Regions from separate parts of the Homo sapiens genome. Here region 1 is linked to region 2. Evidence: promoter capture Hi-C in 16 types of primary human blood cells and fetal thymus (Javierre and others, 2016). All regions are on one chromosome and are shown on one strand. The core of a region is centred on a gene start or on the middle of the fragment in contact, and the rest is flanking DNA. Distances in the headings are between cores, read along the strand shown.

What was found. The method cuts DNA at HindIII sites, captures the fragments that hold promoters and counts their contacts. A CHiCAGO score of 5 or more calls a contact.
Region 1: a contact is called between a fragment that was not itself captured here and the fragment with the promoter of CR2 in region 2, in 1 of 17 cell types (fetal thymus). The highest score is 5.6, in fetal thymus.

What each region holds. Positions count from the first base shown.
Region 1 is chr1:206,713,125-206,719,450 of GRCh38, forward strand. The region is part of intron 1 of MAPKAPK2 (MAPK activated protein kinase 2); the gene reads left to right. Among named protein-coding and RNA genes, the nearest start is that of MAPKAPK2, 31 kb to the left of the region's middle. The HindIII fragment of the contact is 1,256 bases long and covers 2,920-4,175 here.
Region 2 is chr1:207,449,900-207,455,598 of GRCh38, forward strand. CR2 (complement C3d receptor 2) reads left to right here and starts at 4,429. Exons shown (of 20, transcript NM_001006658.3): 1 at 4,429-4,577. The coding sequence starts at 4,520. RefSeq lists silencers at 4,268-4,497, 4,878-4,987. The HindIII fragment of the contact is 5,194 bases long and covers 3,178-5,699 here.

The DNA.
Region 1 (6,326 bases), core at 2,298-4,797, 740 kb before region 2:
TGTCCCAGCTTCCAAGAGGTACATGGTCCACAGTGAAAAGAGAAACCGTTTTATAAATCCCACTGGTGAGTGCTGAAGTAGGAGTTTAGCAAGAGTCTGTGGGCACAGAGAGGCAGAGGGGCTGACTCTGCCTGGAAGTGGTCAGAGAGGCTTCACAGAGGAGGTGACATTGCCATGGTTCTTACAGACGTGAAGTCATGACAAGGCCTGGCTTGCCTGAGGTCAGGAAGTGCATTGTAGCTTCAATATAGGGGATGTGTTGGGAGGTTAGGGTAGCGATGATGTGGATAGGAGCTAGGGAAGACTAAGTTAGGGAATTTGGATTTTATCATGTCAGCCAGTGGAGATGTTTAAGGAGGAAAATGTCCTGCTCAGCTTTGCCTTTCAGCATGTGACCCAAGATGTACTGGGATGGAGTACGTCTCCCTTCTAGAAACCAGTTAGAAAACACAGAAGAGTAGGCCAGGCATGGTGGCTCATGCCTGTAATCCTAGTACTTTCGGAGGCCGAGGTGGACAGATCACTTGAGGTCAGGAGATTGAGACCAGCCTGGCCAACATGTGAAACCCCGTTTCTACCAAAAAATAAAAAGTTAGCCAGGCGTGGTGGTGTATGTCTGTAGTCCCAGCTAGTCAGGTGCTTGAGGTGGGAGAATTGCTTGAACCCAAGAGGCGGAGTTTGCAGTGAGCTGAAATCATGCCACTGCACTCCAGCCTGGGGGACAGAATGAGACCCTGTCTCAAAAAGAGAAAGCACACAAGAGAAAAGGGGCTGCAACCCAGTAAGCGATAGCAGGACTGGAAAAGGAAAGATGGATTTGGGAGATCTTCCCAGAGACAAAATTGGATTGCTTCTGTGGGTGACGGAGGGAGAGAGTCTGAGGATGAGTACTCAAGATTTATATCTGGGAGCCTGGCTAGATAGTGATGTCATTGCCGTTTACTGAGATCCGGGAGCAAATTCAAAGGGGCCGTGAGTTCAGTTTGGTGCCTGTTCAGCAGCCTGTCCTAGATCCACCAAACAGCACTTTATTACTGGCCATTTATAACAACTGCAAATATTATCTAAATGCTTTGTCATCTCACTGCCTCCTCCTTTGTCATCCCTAAGGTCTGGGCAGGAGACTGTGTTCATATACTTCATAGAGGTCCAGACCCCTTGCGTCTGGCATTCCTTTGGTCTATAATTCAGTAAACTCTGCTAAAAAGGAAACGAGACTAGCTTGCTGTGGCCTCTTAAGCGACCCAGGGTAGCTTGTGATGGTTCAGATTATGATTTGTTCTAGAGCTTTTCCAGAGGCAGATGTTGAGGAGTTTATCCTATTTGTCCCCTTCCCTTTAAACAAACAAAAGTGCCGGCTGGACGCAGTGGCTCATGCTGGTAATCCCAGCATTTTGAGAGGCTGAGGCAGGCGGATCACCTGAGGTCAGGAGTTCGAAACTAAGCCTGGCCAGCATGGTGAAACCCTGTCTCTACTTAAAAAAAAAAAAATTAGTTGGGTGTGGTGGTGGGAGCCTATAATCCCAGCCACTCGGGAGGCTGAGGTGGGAGAATTGCTTGAATCTGGGAGGTGGAGGTTGCAGTGAGCTGAGATCACACCATTGCACTCCAGCCTGGGTAGCAGAGTGAAACTCGGTCACAAAAAAAAAAAAAAAAAGAAGTCCCAACCCCCCAGTTTTTTATATCCTCTTAGTCATCATAGTTTATTAACAGTTTTGTTTACATATTGCTTCTTTTTCCCTCTTGGCTAGACTGTGAACCTTGAAGCCCTGTGAGCTTGGTCTAGTGCCTGGAGCATTGTGGGTACCAGGTTTCGAGAGAATGTGTGCTGCCAGAAAGCAGATCTTTGCCACCTCCTCTCCCCTCAGCTCCTGAACCACTGCCAGCAGTGGTTCTGGAATCAACCTGTACTTTCCTTCTGCATCCTGGGATGTAATTCTGGGTGATTGTAAGTTGGTTTATGGTCTAGCTTAGAATTGAGGCTTCTCTTGAGAGAGAGCATGTGTGTAAATGTTTAGCTTGTTCTAGTCTGTGGAGCATTCTCCTTCATAGAAAAGATGGGAAATACTGGAGATGAAAATTCTCCATTCTCTGTCATTTTGTGTGTTAGAGTCTCTGTCCCCATCCCAGGGCCACTTCCTCCCTGGTTCTTCTTATGGCTTTGGATGTAGCTTGAAGACATGCTCCTAGCATTTTCACAAGCTCTGCTTGTTGTGTTTAGTGAGCGCAGACTACTCCCTTCGGGCCTGTCCTGGCTCATGGGCAGTTGCTCGTGTCTTTGCACACATCCTTTACTGTCTCAGCTCTTCACTTCTCCCTGACATTTGTGGCTGCCTCCTCCTGGTTTCTTCTTTAAGCGATTATTGTGTTTTAGATGATCAGAATTCACTTTTTAGAGACTTGGACCTTGTCTTTCAAAATGCATTCCCTTTTGGGATCTCTGCCCATCATACTCCTTGGTCTCAACATCTAAATATTGGTTTTTTTTTTCTTTTTCTTTCTTTCTTTTTTTTTTTTTTTGAGATAGGGTCTCACTCTGTTGCCCAGGCTGAAGTGCAGTGGTACGATCATTGGCTCACTGCAGCCTTGACCTCCTGGGCTCAGTGATCTTCCTGCCTCAGCCTCCTGAGTAGCTGGGGCCACAGGCTAGTGCCACCATGCCCTGCTAATTTTTTAAATTATTCATAGAGACGGGGTCTCCCTGTGTTGCCCAGGCTGGTCTTGAACTCCTCCTTCTCCTTTTTGTATCCTCTTAGTCATCAAGCCATCCTCCTGCCTCAGCCTCCCAAAGTGCTGGGATTTCAGTGTGATCCACTGCGCCTGACCTGAATATTGGTTTTTTTGAAGTCTAGGCTAAACAACTGTTTTTGTCTCAGTTTTTTTTTTTTTAATTTCCCTCCTTTGAACTCTGAATTGACAAGCTTACTTCCTCCCAATGTGGTGTTCTTGTTATTATTGTTTTTGCTAGCTGAAGTATTTTTTTTTTTTTTAAACATAATTTACTAGGTTTTTCTTCCTGGCCAGAAGTAAGTTCAGGGTAATAGTTCCCTTCCTTGTATCTTCAGCTGTGTGAGAGGTAATGTAGAGTGAGAATTTATTTATCAGGTGCCCTGCTCGTAGCAGAAGGCATGACCTCGACTTCTCTCTCACAGTGACCTTGTGTTTGTGTTGGTGGCTTGAACTCACTCTTGTGTCTGGGCCATTTCTCTCACTGTGTAGGAAAGAGTGGTTCCTGTCTTCTCCCTGGCCATGTAGTCTGCTGTGTGTCACCATAACAATCATCTATCTTCCGGTTCTTTTTCCTTCTCTCCTCACCCAGTTGTCTCCAGTCTTAGGCGTGTGGAATTGTGTACTGGGTGGGGGATGTGTGTGTGTGGGCCGCCCTCTTGATTTGTAGGATCCTTCTCTTCCTCCACATTCTCTGTCAACTCTCCTCCACCCCCTGTGAGATCTGTGGACTCAGGTATACGTTGCTGTGAGTCTCATTCTGCTCAGCTGGGGTGATGAAGGTGAGATTGCTTTTGTCGCTTCAAAGTAAAATTTTAGATTTGCTTTGGCAGCCGCACAGGGTCGTATGCATGGGGGCTGCTTAGGCCAGAGGCGCAGTGTTCCTGACCTCCTTCCGTCTTACTTTCTCTTGCTAGTTTGTCCATCTCTGTGGATTTTTTAAAGTAGATACTAGATACCTAGATACTACTAAGAACATGATCTTTCTCTTCTTGCCACTTGGATTTTAGCTTAAAGCCAACTTGGAACATTTAGGGTGTTTCCTTCCTACCACTGTCTGCCTGGTCTCCTAGGGAAAGATGCCTTGTATCTTGTTCTGGTGTACAGTCTGCCCATTTAATTGGTAAGTGTTTATTGTGACTCTTCTCTACTGGGCTCTGGCCCCAGGCCTGATGCGAATAGGGCAGGCCTGTGAACAGAGCAAAGACGAGTCACTTAGGAGGGGACGAGAGAGGCCAGCGGTAAACTAATATTACCAGCTCAGGGTTTATTTGTCAAAGCCTCCTTTGCTGTGAATAAAAGGTTAGATCTGAATTGGGTCTGAGTCCTGGCTTTATTACCTACTAGCCATGTGGCCTTGGGCAAATTATTAATACTTCCTTGGGCCTTGGTTGCCGCACCTGTACGATGGAGTCAGCAATGGATCCTGTTCTGTAGGGCTGCTAGGAAGCTTAAATATAGCAATATTTGCTATATATAAAGTGCACCTGGTACATAATTGATGCGGTTGAAATGAAAATTCCTCTTTCTCTTTCAGTGCCATTTGCTGGAAGAAACAGAAGAAATATCTCTGTCCCCATCTTTCAGTTTCCTACCCAAGACTCCTGTGTGGTTGACATCACTGCTGTGTGCAGTGTTCATGTCCATATAAGTCAGAAGTGGCTTGCAGCAGTGGTTTGGGGCTTTGGGGCCTCTGCTCGCTCCTTATCAATTCTTAGGGTTACATCCTCTGGGAAGATGCCAGGCCTGGTCAAGTGTGGCCTCTGACCTAGAGTTATGCAAGGCCTCTCTTCCTCCTGTGGCCAGTGTGAAATTTCTCATCTGTGCTCTCCTGCCTCTAGCAGGAAGGTTGGCCTACATTTGGGGCACATCTCTGTCACTGTCTCAGGCCAGGGGTTCAAATATAAGACCTGAATCATACTGCACCTCAGAACCCAAACCCTTTTACTTAATTTTTTTTAAAAAATTTCATTCAGATGGTAAAGGTTCAAACAATACATAGAGATATAAAACAGAAAGAAAAAAAAATACACGCCTCTCTCTAGTACCTATTCCCCAGTAGTCAACACTGCTACCTTTTTTTTGCAGGGGAGGTAAATTCCTCCAGAAAAAAACTTAAACATCTACAATTTCATATATCCTCTCCCCTCTTCCCTAAAAAACAAAACAATAACAACAAAACTATAGAAATGGGATTATGCTATATATTCTGTTCAGTACTTTTTTGTTTTTGAAAATTTAAAAAATATGCAAAAGAAGAAAATGTCATCCATATTACTACCACTTATAATTAACCACTAATTAACTTTTAGGTGTGTTTGCTTCTTGTCTTTATGAATATACTTTAAAAGCTACTTAAGTAAGGTGGAAGCAGTTCTGTTTAAAAAATTAGGATGTTGCCCGGGCGCTGTGGCTTACGCCTGTAATCCCAGCACTTTGGGAGGCCGAGGCGGGCAGATCACGAGGTCAGGAGATCGAGCCCATCCTGAATAACATGGTGAAACCCTGTCTCTACTAAAAAATACAAAAAATTAGCCAGGCATGGTGGTGGGCGCCTGTAGTCCCAGCTACTTGGGAGGCTGAGGCAGGAGAATGACGTGAACCCGGGAGGCAGAGCTTGCAGTGAGCCAAGATCATGCCACTGCAGCTCCAGCCTGGGCGACAGAGCAAGACTCCATCTCAAAAAAAAAAAAAAAAAAAAAATAGGATGTTAAAGATAAAGCCAAAGTATTATATCATCTTGGTCCTTATCTGCTTTCCCATTTAATAGCATCCTGCTCTCCCCGTCGCCGTGGATGGGGAGCTGCCTCTTTCTTCTACGACACCGCACGTTTTCCATTGTATGGATTTGCTGTCATTTCATTTATCTGACCACCCTCTTATTGGTAGGCATTTAGGTTATTACCAGTTTTTTTGCCATTAAAATGCTTTATGAATATAATGTGTAGGATGGTTTCTTGCTGGGTAATTACTGGGTCCAAGGTTTGAACATTTACAATTTTGATAGACATGGCCAAATACCTCCCCAAAAATACTAGTTTATTTCTCTACCAACTGAATGTGTAAGAGAGTGCCTTTTCTCCCCAGATCTTTGCATAAACCTGGGAGTTTTATTTTGGTCAAACATTAAAATTTTTTTTTTGCCAGTCTGGTGAAATTATCATCTTTTTTATAAACATTTCTCTTTGAGCTACACTGAGTGTCTTCCATTCAGCCATCTGTGTTTCTCTTGCTTTGAACTGCCTGTTCTTATCGTTTGGCCATTTTTATATTAGGTTGTTGATCTTCAACAATTGATTTGCCTGAGTTAAGTTAGCCTTTTATCCATCATGTGTTGGAAATATTTTAAAGATTTGTCATCTACAGTGCGATTTTTAGGCCTCTTGACTTTTTGTTGAGCCCTAGGCTTTTGTGACTGCCTGTGACAGCTCTGGAGAGGGGGCCGACAGGCACAGTGGCCCGCAGTCGAGCCAGGCCCCATCTTCTGGGCAGTGACGCGTGGTTGTTTTAAGGCTTTTGGTACTGGGATTCCCCGTTGTAAGTTTTAGCTTTGTTTTGGGTAGGGACTTTTCCCCATCATATTAATGAACATTAATAAC
Region 2 (5,699 bases), core at 3,179-5,678:
AGACAAAAAAACAAAATATTTCCTTCATGGATCTTACATTGTAAGAGAGACAAACACAAATGAGGTCATTGTAAAATATATAATGTGTTCAATGGAGCTAAGTAGTAAGAGAAGAAAAATAGACCAAAGAAGGGGATATGAATGGAAAGGGAGGTAAAAGTGTAAGAGGATATCTAGGAAAGATCTCACTGAGAAGGTATCTTCGAGTAAAGACTAGAATGAAATGAGGGAGCTGGCCACTGGGGCTATTCAGGAGAAAAACAATCTGGACAGAGCAAACAAGACCCTCCGAGGGCAAAGGACCCCAGTCAGAGTGCAAAGAATACTAGAGCAGCAAAGGCCATTGTGGCCAGAGGGAGAAAAGAAGGAGAAAAGGGTCAAAGATGAACTCAGAGAAGTTAAAGGAAAGCAGATCACATTGGACTGAATGGATCATAGTTATGACATTGCCTTCTACTTTGAATGAGATAGGAAATTATTGGAGGGTTTGGAGCAGAAGGCAGTGATTTCTTTTTTCCTGACAAACATGTAAACAGGATCACTGCAAGATACTAGACACCAACACACTCATCTACAGAGGAGTTGAGTTTTTGTGTTGCTGAGAAGTGTTTATTAATAAAAATATATTTGGGAAATTTATGAGGGCAGACAAGAATAAGCATGAAAAGAATCATGAATCTAACTGTAAAATAAATGAAACAATACACGTGCAAGAAGAAAACATGGATGAATTATTGTGTAACCTGGAGAATGGTTTTTAAAACCATGGCTCCTAATCCAGATGCAATAAAAGAAAAGATTTATCAACTTGACTGCATTAAAACAGACAATGCTTACAAGGCAAAACGATGCCATAAACAAAGTCAAAAGACAACTGACAAACTGGGAGGAAACATTTGCAAAACACATCCAGAATAACAATCCTAATATATATAAATAAGTCTCAAACATTGAGAGAGGAAAAGGCAAATATACATGATAAAAATATATTTTATAAATGTTCAGCGTTACTCATAGGGAATGCAAATTAAAGCTACACTGAGATAAAATGTCTCATTTATTAGACTGACTAAAATTTAAAACCATGATGACAGCACATTAGATTAATGAGGTGCTCTCACACAGTTTTGTAGGAATATATGTGGTACAACTCTTATTAAGGAAATTTGGCAATATCTAACAAACCTACATATGTGTTTACCATTTGACCCAGCAATCCCACTTCTAGGAATTTGAACTGAAGACATGCTTCTAACAGCAGAAAAATAAATATTCACAAAGTTACTCTTTAGAGCATTAAAAACAACCAAACTGTCCATACATAGGGAGATGGTTGAATAAACTATGGCATATCCACACAGTGAAGTATTGCATGCAACTGTAAAAATGAATGAGGAATATTTGAATTTGTAGGAAATAGTGGATTCCAGCATATTTGTTAAGTTAAAAAAGAAATGTGCAAAAGAATACCTATAGCATGCTTTTAAAATGTAATAAAAAAGGAGAACTAAGAAGACAAATGTGTAGCAGCTCATTTGAGCAAAACTAAGGACAAACCAGAAACTACTGAAATTGAGTACCTATGGTGGAGAGGATAGAGGTGATGGAGAGAAGTGACATTTCCCTTTTATTGTGTCTTTTTATATCAATCTGACATTTGGGACTACGTTAATGTTTTATTTAAGCAAAAAAAAATCAAAAAGATTGAGGGGAAACTAAAATAGAATACAAAGAGAAACAAATTAACAGTATTTTGAATGAATAACAATCACACTGAAGAGGGGGAATAATCTGAGTAACTTTGGAACACAACAATGCTGTTTTTATATTTTCGGGCTATAAACAAAATAAAACTTTAAAAACGAGTAGATTTGATTTCCATCATAGTATAGAAATAGCAATTTTAAACTTCTTTCTGTGTATTCTAGGATTAAGCAAATAAGTAAATATATTGTGGATCTAGGTGTCTCACTGTTGAAGAAGGGAGTTACACATGCAGAAAGAGGGAAGGACAGAATGAACTCTATGCTAACGGACTGAAATTGGAAGAATCACTGTGAATTCATGACATATATAAATATAGATATGGGAATGGATATACATATATATATATAATACATATCCTTGCTCTGTCTGCTGAGAGGGTGCGGAAACAATGATACTCCAATAAAAATGAACACACTTAGCATCCAATTCTGGCATCTAAATGCCATTCTCTGCCAGAAAGAACCAGCATTCCTTGGAGAAACAGCAAATTCCAGTGTCAGGTCTAGAGGTGAGTCTGGAGCATTTTTTTTTGTGTGTGTGCCAGAAAGTAAGGAAGTGCTCAAAGAACAATAAGAACAAGTCAAAATGACATAGGAACTATTTTGAGGGCTCCCACTGGCCCGATCAGGGAGAATTTAAGCATCAAAATAAATAATGGTAGCCATGAATTATGACCCATTGAGTAAATAAATAAAATTCATATTGATATAGTTTATGCTGATATAGATAAATGAATAAATAAATAGAGAAGGGAAAACTTTTATTTACAGTAAAATGCCAACAGATGAATATAGAAGTAATTATTAAATTAGGAAAAAACACCCTTTGACAACCATCATAGTAAAAATTGATTCAAGAAAGGATCATCAATAGACGCTAAAATTTGTGGGTAAAAATTTGATGAAAAAATGAGGAATTTACATAGTTTTAAAGTATCTCCCTATAAAATACTTATTAATTACAAAGGGAAAAATACTGAGTCTACACTAAGAAACATGGCAGGCACCATCTTAACTAAGTGATCAAAGTTACCACCACCAGTAATAGGACAAATAGACAACATATGCCTCCCCGTAAGGATAAGACATCCTTTCTGGTATTCCTGTCAAATAATTAGATTCAATAACCTGAATCTATCATGAAGAAATGATAGACAAATCCAAATTGTGGGGTGTGATCCTGTCTCCTGACATTACCATCCACGTATACTGCCCTCCTACACTGAAAAGGGCTGATCTGTACAATCAATTGGATATTCTGGAGTTAACATATTGTGATTTCTGAGGACAGGTCACAAAGGACATTATGGCTTCTTCTTTCTTGTTCTCAGAGACGCTAGCTGGCATGTCACGAGGACACTCAACACACAAGCAGCGAGCCCTATGGCAAAATCCACGTGGTGAAGAATGAAGCTTCCAGCCAAAGGCTGGTAAGTGAGCCATCTTAGATGTGGATTCGCCTATCCCAGTTAACCCTTCAGATGACTGCACCTCCAGCTGGTGTCTTAACTGCAATCTCCTGAGCGATCCCAAGCCAGAACCACCTGACCGACCCACAGAAACTGTGAGATCATAAATGTTTATTCTTGCTTTACACCACTACCTTCAGGGTAATTTGTTATTATAATAGATAACGGACTTAAAAGTCATTCTCCAAAAATAATTGTGGTGTATTCGTCAAAAATGTAAAGGTCATGCAATACCAAAAATGCTGAGGACATTTTTCCAGAATAAAGAACTGGGGGTGGGGGGAAGGCATAATGATCAAACACAATACATGATCCTGAAATGATTCTGGACCAGGAAAAACAAAGGTTGGTTTCTATTGTTGTTATTGTTTTTACCATAACACAGGTTATTGAGATGATTGTCAAAATTTAAATACAGATGGTAGCTTATAGTCTTGTGTCAATGTTAAGTTCTTATTTTTGATCATTGCACTCTAGTTATGGAACAGAAAGTCCTTAGTGAACCATTTAGAATAGGAATAAATGCTAGATGGTTCCAAAGTAATAATTATATAATTATAATTATATAATCACATATATGTACATATATGTCTATAGAGAAAGAATAGAGAATGGTAAAGAAAATACAGCAAAATGTTAACATGCAGAGAATCTGGGTGACAAGTATATGGGAATTCTCTGCAGTACTCTTGAAACTTTTCTGTAGAGATTACTTCAAAATAAAGAACAGAGCAGAAGTGGCTGCTGTTCCTAAATTCCCTAAGTAAACTTACACTGCTTTTTCAAACTGGGAGATGAATCCACTAATAGGTTTTGAAATGAGTTTGGTGGATTTCTAATAAGAATAGGATAGCCTAGCCTAGTCTAGCATAACACAGCATGGCACAGAGGACGAACATTGTAGATTACTAAGGGTGAGTACTAACTTGTGAAAGTTTTGTTTAAGTTCTAGTAAGAGAAACAAGTGAGTGTAGTGGGTTGCGTGGTCAAAAAAGTGGGGAAGCCACCGCAACGAGGGGTGAGTCTGAGCCAAAGAGTGGCTCAGAGCTCCCCGCCCACCTCGTGCCGGGCCGTCCCTCCCGCTTGTCCCACCCTCACCGGCGCCGCGTCAGCCCCCAGGCCGCCTGCAGGTGTGCGCTCAGAACTAGCACGTGTGCCGGACACTATTTAAGGGCCCGCCTCTCCTGGCTCACAGCTGCTTGCTGCTCCAGCCTTGCCCTCCCAGAGCTGCCGGACGCTCGCGGGTCTCGGAACGCATCCCGCCGCGGGGGCTTCGGCCGTGGCATGGGCGCCGCGGGCCTGCTCGGGGTTTTCTTGGCTCTCGTCGCACCGGGGGTCCTCGGTGAGCTGGGAGGGGGAGCACGGAGGTGGGGACGCGTCCCGGGCAGGGAAAGTTTCTGTGCCGCGATGCAAAGCAGGGGGCCAAAAGCGAGACGGTGGGGGCAGTGCTCGACGCGTGTCCGCCTCCCGCTAGCTTTGAGGGACCACTGCAATAAACCGCCTGGTCCTGATTGTCCCCACTGGCCCCTCCGGGAGCTGGGACCTCCAGAATTGGAGGCTGCGCCACAGAGGGGCGCTGTCTGGTCGGCCCGGTGTGGCTGGCGGCGTGCGGGTGCTCGCGGTCTCCTGCCGGGCTCCCCGCCCCCAGGATTCTGCAGGTGCTCATCGCTCTCTGGCCGGCGGTCAGCGCTACCGCTCGCCACGGGAAACCTACCCACTGCATGAGGCACCAGCTAGCCACGTGAGGCTGTTTCTGTACACCCGAACCGCGCTCTTGCCCAGCAAAAGCGGCAGAACCTCGGCTCCCTTCCCTAAATAAGAGTAAGACCTGGTTCCCAAGCATGGGTCTCAGATTTTCTGAACTCTAATGTGATATTGGTAGAGATCCTAAACATTAACCATCCGTAGTTATTTTTGAGACATGGATTAAAACTATTGTTTTCTTCTTGTTATTAACCTACTGTAATGGTGTGGACGTCCGCAAAGGTCTCATTCACCGTTTATTATATCTTTTTTTCCTCCAGATTGGCTTGATTTTAAAGAAAGATTATAATTAAGATTAGCGTCTCTTGGCTACAGGATGGGTCTAAGTTTCTAATTATCTCCACGGTACCGTGCATTCCTAGTTTATAAGACGTTTACTGTGTGCAGACCTCAATAACTGGGTGACTTTTGGCAAGTCATTTAGCTCCCTGATCTTCAGTTTCTTCATCTGTAAAATGAAACTAGTGATTAACTGGCCTTCCACCTCACTGAGCTGCCCTGAGCACAGATGAAACTAAGCAAAGAAAGTTGGATGTTAGTCGTTACTACTAAATATCAGTAATAAGCCTCCTGTACAGACTTGATTTTATGGAGCCAGCATTTAAGCTAACAAGCTGGGTGTCCAATTGTTTCTATGGACATCCAGCTTATTGAGGTGTCTGGAATACAGCACATATTAGTTTATTACAACTTTTTGCTT